Linked DNA regions of Homo sapiens: region 2 is linked to region 1. The links are contacts of gene promoters, found by promoter capture Hi-C in human tissues and cell types (Jung and others, 2019). All regions are on one chromosome and are shown on one strand. Each heading gives the region's core, a stretch centred on a gene start or on the middle of the fragment in contact. The rest is flanking DNA. Distances are from core to core; before and after follow the strand shown.

Evidence for each region. Contacts are between HindIII fragments. The study calls those that stand out against the background at their distance.
Region 2: a fragment that was not itself captured here is called in contact with the fragment with the promoter of ENDOU in region 1 in 1 of the 25 tissues and cell types used here (spleen).

Annotation. Positions count from the first base shown.
Region 1 is chr12:47,723,979-47,728,426 of GRCh38, reverse strand. It overlaps ENDOU (endonuclease, poly(U) specific), which reads left to right and starts at 2,937. Exons shown (of 10, transcript NM_001172439.2): 1 at 2,937-3,068. The coding sequence starts at 3,014. The region is part of intron 3 of RPAP3-DT (RPAP3 divergent transcript); the gene reads right to left. RefSeq lists silencers at 1,278-1,337, 2,303-2,422. The HindIII fragment of the contact is 12,082 bases long and covers 1-4,448 here.
Region 2 is chr12:47,889,573-47,893,825 of GRCh38, reverse strand. The region is part of intron 1 of VDR (vitamin D receptor); the gene reads left to right. Among named protein-coding and RNA genes, the nearest start is that of VDR, 13 kb to the left of the region's middle. The HindIII fragment of the contact is 4,335 bases long and covers 1-4,210 here.

The DNA of each region.
Region 1 (4,448 bases), core at 1,688-4,187:
TGAGTACCTAATGGCGGGGGGTACTCAGAAAGAGGAGCCGCAGAGTTCTTGGTCCACAACAGGCTAGCAGGGAAGAGAAAGCTGCCTGAAATCTATCTTAATGTATCTCTCTCTCTCTCTCTCTCTCTCTCTCTCTCTTTTTGTGTGTGTGTGTGTGTGTGTGTGTGTGTGTGTATACACACATACATGGACATCTAAGTTTATGAGGCATCTTTGCATGAATATGTATTGATATATTTTCATTTATTGGCTTAATGGATTTTTTCTGCCTTTGTCAGCATGTCTTCGGTTATAAAATCTGGGGTTTGGGAATCCGATCTGCGAAGAGGGCGTATGAGCAGCCGTGGGAGGGCATATCCCAATTCCCCACCCCTCAACCCTCAGCACCAGAGGCAATGAAGGAGAGGCAGGACAAGCACTTAGGGTTGTTTAGGGAGTTGTGACATCCTATGAGAAGTGGAACTAGATGGCAGTTGAGGTCCCTTTAATTCCAGTGAATTTAAATCTAGACTGCTTTGTATAGTAACCAGACATGATTAAGTGGTCGTTCAAAGTGTGATGTTGTGGGGCAATGGAGCAACGGTGCTTATGAGAATGACCCCTGGTCAGATGGATCTGGGTTGAGGCACAGCTGCATAACTTAATGATTGTGTGCTTCTGGGCACGTCTCCTAACCTTTCTGTGCCTCAGTTTCTTCATCTGTAAAATGAGGACAGCAATAGTACCTATTAAGGTTGTAGTGAGAATCAATGAGATAACACATATGATAACACACGTGGTAAGTGCTCAGTCAATGTTGCTGGTGGTTGTTAAGGCTGTTATTCTTATTGAAGGATGCAGTTTTAAACACTTGGGTACTCAGATGAACCATCTGGCTCTATGGAGTCATCCTTAACTGTCTTCCCCAGCTCCAATCCTTGCTCCTGACCTAAAATTCCATTAATGGGGGGAGAGCTCCTGCCCTCAAAACACCATCCCATGGCCAGTTCAGCTGGACACTAGGAGAACCTAGCCAGGCTGTACTCCACTCTGACAGCTTTGGCTTCAGCTAGGGTCCACCCAGCTGGACACTTGGAAGGGACAGACCATTCATTCCCAAATTCTGAGGCATCATTGCTTCCCAGGCCAGCCAGTGACACCCTCCTTTGTCCCCTAAACAACAGGAGTCAGAGACACGTTTATGTGGTGCCAACCCAGGGAGGATGAGGATTCTGAGGGGCAGTGACTCTTCAGCCTGCTTTTGGATTGTGTAAATGAAATCTATGCAAATGAAGCAGCCATTTCTGCTCTTACTCATTCTAACCAGCTCCCTTCTGGGAGAGAAGGGCTAGGCTCACTCTTTAGTTGTGCTTCCGGGCTGGATGCAGTGGCTCACACCTGTAATCCCAGCACTTTGGGAGGCCAAGGTGGGCAGATCACCTGAGGTCAAGAGTTTGAGATCAGGTTGGCCAACATGGTCTCTACTAAAAATACAAAAATTAGCCAGGTGTGGTGGTGCATGCCTATAATCCCAGCTACTCGGGAGGCTGAGGCATGAGAATTGCTTGAGCTGGGGAGATGGAGGTTGCAGTGAGCCGAGATCACACTGCTGCACTCCAGCCTGGGCGACAGAGAGAGAGATTCCATCTCAAAATATATACATACATTGCACTTCCTGTGTGAGCCCCTTGCAAAGTTTGCTTGCCCTAGGCTTGTCCTTCTCTCTACCCCTGAGTCCCTATGTTTGGACTCCTCTCTACACAGCAACAGGCTGGGGGATTCTCTTTAACCCACCAGCAACTGTTCAACCTGGCGCATGGGCAGGAAAACTCGAGATTAAAGTCTGAGAACCTGGAAGGGATTGTCAGATCCAACCCCATCATTTCAGATGAGAAAGCTGAAGACCAGCGAGAGGAAGAAACTTCTCCTGTTAAAGCACACTGGATGAAGACGTGCTCCACTCCCAACCTCCAGAAAAAAATCACTGATAGAGTGGCCTCCACTGTTCACCAATTTTGCCTTTTTATATGATAGTTTTCTTTCCTGAGAGGGTTGAGAATCCCCATGCAGTGCTCTTTCTGGCAAGGGCATCATACTTGGCAGATTTTACCTTTATTATCGGGGAAAACTGGACAGTCACGGGGAGCTGCTCCCCTTCTTTTGGACTTGGAAACAAAAGAACCTCACTGGGGAGGAGTTCCTGAGGAGAGGAGTGTAAGTTGGGGTGAAGGGAGTGAAACCCTGGGCTCCCAGGGGAAGAAGAGTGGGCCTTCGGCTGCCTTTAAGAGGCCTCTTGCCCCTCCCCTGCCTCATAAGGAATCTGAAACGTTTAAACCCCAGAGGCTGACTCAGTAAGAGTCATTTGCATAATATTTTAGAGTGATTTAGCCATGCGCTCGACATGTGGCTGATTTAGCTATGCTGGGCTTGGTGGTCATAAGAATAGCACTGGTTCTGACCGACACATCCTCTATCTCTCTGTCCAATGACCCCAACCCTTGCTTGGGCACTTACTGTTTGTCAAATTTGGACCAATCACCTTACTGTGTGCCAGTGTCATGCTAAGCTCCAGGAATTTGAAGATGAATCCAACCTGTGGCCCCTTGGAAAGTCAGGTCTGAGACTTGGAAGTAGGTGTCTGTTTGGTGGGGATCACCCAAAGATCAGCCCATGGGTGTCCCTAATTTGGACAAAGAACCCTCCAAACTGGACCCATCTTGGTGTGCCTGCCTGCATGACCTATTTTTTAAGCTGCAAACAGCTAGCATTACCTGTTCTCAACATCTGGCATTACCTACCTTCTTAGTCACCTTCCCTCAGGCTTCAAACAGCTGTAGGGCCCCACCTCCTATCCATCTAGGGTCCCTCCCTCCCCTTTTTCTTCCTGAAAGGATCTGGAGACACCAGCTCCACAAGTCCTGGTGTCTTTAAAAGGATCAGCTTGAGGAATAAGGCTCGTCTGAGAGCTGTGACATTCATCTGACTCTAGTGAAAGTCCAACAGCCACTCCCTTTTTGGCCTCCAACTGGGCACCATGAGGGCCTGCATCTCCCTGGTATTGGCCGTGCTGTGTGGCCTGGCCTGGGCTGGTAAGTCACTATCTGGCGGGCATGGGATTGCTGGTGGGGCGGGATCTTGCCTAAAGAAGCAGAGAGTTGGAGAACTTGGTAGAGGGCAGGGCCGTGGGACAAGGGAGGGTGAGCTCTGTCCTAAAGCCGCAGAGCACTTTTGGGTTGTCCTTGTCTGAGGGTGCAGGCGTTGGTCCCGGAATGGACTGGACTATGTGGAGAGAGTTGCAGGGCTGATGGTCTGATTTCATGGAATTCCCTTCTTGACACCTTGGAGGATCAGCCCCAAATATCCCTTAGTCCAGCCTGACTTTTGATCTCCCCAAGATTTTGTTGTCTGGGGCCACTGTAAGGAATAAAGCTAGGGCTGGTGTCCATGGGGTCTGAGTGGCCTGGCTGCCCTTGGTCACTCCTTCCACTGCCTGGTGACAGGTGAGGTTGTTTAGGGTGTGATGTTACTTTGGGTAGAGCCTTAGGAGGTGGGCAGGCTTAGGAGGAAACTGAAAGGACCTTTGACCAGGAGGTGGGCCTCGTCCTATCTGGGGCTGTACAGGGGTCAGAGGAATGGATCTCTGTTGCAGTGTTAGGAGAATTGAAGAATACAGAAGGGACCTGGCCCACAGTTATGAGAGGTCCAGGGGATGGGACTGGCAGAGGAACAGGACCATGTTCCTGTTTAGTAACTGTGCAAAATGCTGGTGCTGATGGGTTAATTGGTAGCTAGTGGGTGGGTGGGAAGGAGTGCCAAGGGAGGGGCTGAGCTGAGGAGTGTGGGGAGAATCCTCCTCTGCCCACAGGAGAAAGAATCCTTCCACTGGGTTGCTCCTGTGTAGGACTGTGGAAAGGATTAAATGAAATAATGTATGAGAAGCACCTGGTGCAAAGTGAGATCTCAGTGAACTGGAAATTCGCTATGATTATGACTATAAATTTTCTTGGGAGAAACTTCCGCTTGGGGTCATTTCCAACTGGGTTGTGGAAAGGAGACCCTTATGGGATTTCTAAGTGGAAAACCCCTGGAAGAGGAAGTTGTGCCTCCCAACCATGGATGAGATAGTGCATCTTACCAGAAACCAGCTCTGCCTGGGCCCTAGTGGGTGGAGAGGCAGTGGGAGAGCATGAGGGTGGGCCTGGGAGCCACCAGCCTCAGCCCTGTTGGTTGGGAGGAAGGTGGAACTTGGGGGCTTAATGTGTAGGGGTGGCCAGCGGGCTTGGCATATTCCAGCCTTAGGGAAGGAGAGCAACTCTGGATATTTGGTCCCTGGGGGGCAGAGGTAGCAGTGGCTTTAGAAGTGCAGGTGGAGCTCTTGCTGCTAGGTCGGAGGGCAGTATCTGCTTTGGCTGTGGGATCGATGGGGAAGTGAGGTCAAGTGTATGAGGCTTCCTAAGGTGGCAGGGAAG
Region 2 (4,253 bases), core at 794-3,293, 170 kb before region 1:
CATGTGAGGTGCTCCACACACGTCTGTGGTGAGTGTTGTTTGTGAGCATCGTGTATTTTGCCTGATGCCCTTCCTTAGACAATTCCTGGCAATGAGCAAGTGACCTTGTTGACCAGAACAGAGTAGGCTGAGTGGGCTGAGTGGACTGGTGGAGGCAGGTTTGGGGATCCTGCGGCTGTGGGCAACTCACCTCTCTCTGCGCCCATCAACCATATCTGACCACCCTGGACAGACTGAGGAATTAAGTAAGGATTGCACTGGTGATATGGCAGCTGAGTTGTTCACTAACCTCCCTTCCATCTGCCCTTATTGAATCATTTGTTCTTTCTTTTGATTTTCTCCCACAAAACCTTTTTTTTTTCTATTCAGCTAGGCTGAATTTTTCAGGTCTCTCCTTTACCTCTCCCTTCTAGCTCGACTACTGATGGTCCTATTCTTCTCAGGGTTAAGGATCTCCCTGAAGGACTGTGGGGGACAGTGGCTTTGTGTGTACCCAGGCTGGGACTTCAGCTGTGCTGCAGAAGAGGCCTGTGCATAGCTAACGTCTCAATGAAACAATGAGAGAGGCCCTGTTGTCACAACACTCAAGGTGGATTCAGGTTGGAATGGGGATCTGAATGGGGTCTGAAACTCTTCAGTTTCAATAAATCGTGGCAATAATTAAAAATTCCTGATATTCAAGACTCACTGGGTTTAACTTGAAGAAGCAGAGAAAAGAGTGGAATGTACTTCCTACAGGCCTTTGACATGAGTGTGGCCAGTTATTACGTCTCTTCCTGGCACCCTCTCCCTCTCTCCAGCCACATTGAATGAGTTTCTCTGTCCCAAACATGTTCTTTCCCTTTCGCTCTCAGCTTTTGCATGTGCAGTATCCTCTGCCTGGAGTGCTCCTTACGCCTCTTACCACACCACATTAAACTCCTCTGCTCCTTCCTGTCTCCGTGGAGAGGTTGAGAGGGGACAGCCTCCAAAGAGCCTTCTCTTCTCTTTTCTCACCAAGATGAGGCAGAGGCTCTTGCATATGCTCCCTCTAGACCTGGCACTTACCTGGATCGTAGGATGTGTCGTACTGAATTGGAGGTTCCTGTTTGTCCCCCATCCCCACCCCCCAACCCGCGGTAGACTGTAAGCTCCTAGAGGACAGGGTCTATGTCTTGCTCACCACTGTGTCTCTCACTTCCAGTACAGGCCTTTCCATGTGGCTGGCACTTAAACATAGGCAGGGACCCTATCAGAGATAAGGCAGCAGAGGCCAGAGTCAATGTCCACCACAGTGTGAGGCCAAGAAGAAATGCCGCCACATCCTATCCCTGGCCCTCCAGGGGTGTCCTGAAGAGGGACCCTACCCAGAAGGATGGCCAGAAGCCTGACCAAACAGCTCTGGAAAAGCTTGTTAGGGGGAAGTCATTCTAATCAGAAATGGAGGAGCAGCCGATGTCACCTTGGGGTGACTGCTGCTGCCCTTGAAAGTGAGTGGGAACTTCCTACGTGGCCCAGGTCCTGAGAAGCTGCATGAACACAGTACAGGGGAAGTGTCCACCCTCACTAATAACCTAGAAGATGGAGACGGTACGTTTGGGCAAATCAGCCGTGCATGGGACCGGAGCTGCCTGGTGGAGAGTTAGCCCAGCCCTGCCCATCTCAGAGGACCCTGGGGATCCTTCCCTGATTCTGACACAGGCTTCAGAATCTATCCCAGGATAAGTGAATGGCCTTCCCAGGCCTTCAAGAGCTGGGGCAGCCAGAAGTCCAGGCCCACTGAGCCAGAGCCCACCCCATGTCTAGGTGAAGGGGCATGGCAGGGCCATTCTTCTGCCAGGGCTTCCACGGTTCTCGCTGCCACCTCCTGACTCCAGCCCCTCGGCACCCACCTCAGCCTTCTCCTGAGTTCTGCTTTCTGCTTCAGGTGGTGGTGGGTGGGGGTGGGTGGTGGTGGTGCCGCTGCCCTGGTAACAGACAGCGGGGCATCGGCATCCTGGAGGTAGTCAAGCTTCAGGTCCCACTAGAGTGAGAACAGATGCAGGTACAGGATCAGCACTTGATGATGGGGGAGGTGGGGGATGGAGGTGACACTGGATGAGAAGGGACAGGAAGGATGATGGCTGTAAGGGTGGTAATCAGTGACAACTTGGGAGCCACAGGCTTTATGTTTTACGTGGAGGAAAAGTCCAGATTTGTAGCTCAGCTTCTCTGACTGTTAGGAGAGAGATTAGAACAACTCATTTCTCCTCACCCCAAGAAGTTTTGAAAGAGTTTTAGAAGCCACAGACAGTGGGTGGGGTGGTCAGTTTTTTTCCCAGCTCAGCAAAATTGTGGCTTTCTGGGCAACGTTTGTTTGGGGTGGAGCTTTTGGGACTGAGAAGCAGGCATCCTGCCCTTCACAGCACCTCTCTCGGGCCTGAAGTTCTTCTCATTTTCCTGGATTCTCCATTGATTATACTAAAGCCAGGTACAGTTATAATAATAATAGTTAACACATAAAGCTTATGGTGTGCCAGGCACCCTTCTGAGGGCTACTCAGAGATCAGCTCGTTTGATCCCCACACAAGAACTGAGACTCAGGTATTATCATGTCCCTGTTTGTAGATAAGGAGACAGGAATGGGCTCTGGGGGCATCTGAACAGTGGTCAGGTGGCCAGGGGCATCAGGCTGGCCCAGGTAGCTGGACAAAGGCAAGGGGTCTGATCCCAAGGATCCCAAATATCTCAGAGCTGGTAGGACCTGGGGTTTGAATACTGACCTTTGACACAATGCGGAAGAGTCTACGTGACTCAGAGATCACGTTGGTCCCAGAAGGAAAATAAGGAAAATAAGCCTGGCCACCCTGGATAGGGGTAGGTTGTTGGGCCTCAAAGAGGTTTGCCTGAGCAAGAGTGGCTCAGGCCTGGGCAGGCCACTGTCCCCAGGAGCACCCTCCCTGCCCATCGCGTCCCTCTGCCCCTCCCTCCTGCACATGTCACACTGACCACATCTGTAGACATCTTGAGTTGTAGCTGCAGATGGGGACCAGTGGCTCCCATTTTCATTTTAGCCATTTTGTCTCCTGCACCCACTCCCTTCATACAATCTAGTCAGAATAGCACTTCTAGGGCACACGTTCTCAGTCCAAGCTGTGGGAAAGCTCCCCTTATCCAAGAGAGTTTAAAGGTAGTGACTTGGGTTTTTGCGAGTGTTTTGTTTAGTAAGGACTTGTGGGGAGGAACCGTGCTAAGCCATAACCAATGAGGAGAAGCAAGACAGCCTGTCTGCCCCCAGGAGCCAGTCCTCTGCTCTTCTGCAGTCAGGCCACTGCCTTGGGGCTCTAGTCATTCCAGTGGAAGATGAATGTAACCTGCCTGGTGACGTGACAACCGTTTCCTCCCTGACCCCAGAGGAGCTGGCTCTAGAAGGTTGGGATCAATCCTGAATTTAGTTTATGTGTTAGATTTATATATATATATATATATAAAATATATATTACATACATAATATATATAAAATACATATTACATATATGTAAAATACAAAACAATAACCTTTCTGGGGTTTCTCGTGGCAGTTGAAATAGTCCCTCATGTGGTCGTCAGAAAATAAGCCATTCCTCATACTAATATGGGATAAGCTCCTTGACCTCTGAGGAGCAGGAGTGCTTCCTGCTGTGTGTTTTAGAATCCCTCCCCGCCTTGTTTCGTGGCAGTGAAATGCCTCTTGGTCCTGTCCAAATGTGTCTTTCACTGATTTTTTGAATCATGTTCTAGTTGCTTGGTCCTGCCACATGGGTCCAGTGTTCATTTGAGCATAACTGTACTAAATCCTTTTTCCAGATCAGTATAATAAAGGAGTGATGTGCAATTAAAAAAAAAACAAAAAACCGTGGCTCAGGCCTATGTGGACTCAGGCTGCGGGTCCCAGCGTTAAGACAGATGCTTAGCCTGGAGGGAGGCACACAGGCACACTGGAAGCTGGGCTTGGGAGTGGCTTGGAAGCAGCTTTCTCCCGCTGTCTTGAGCTGCTTTTTTGTTTTTGTTTTTGTTTTCAGAGAAAATCCCATTTAGCCATCAGCTGCACTAACACTAGCAGTAGTTTGGGTCTCCCCAAAGAAGGGCTGGACCTACTCTCTCCCTTTGGGGATGCCCCAGTTTCTATTTCTTGGTCTCCAAGTCACTGAACAAATAGCCTCCTTGTCTCATCAACTTTTCCCTGTAGCAGATATCCTTGGGAAGTACCCCCATGCTAGTGTCCCAGGAAGACCCACCTGGAGTAGAGAAAGCTC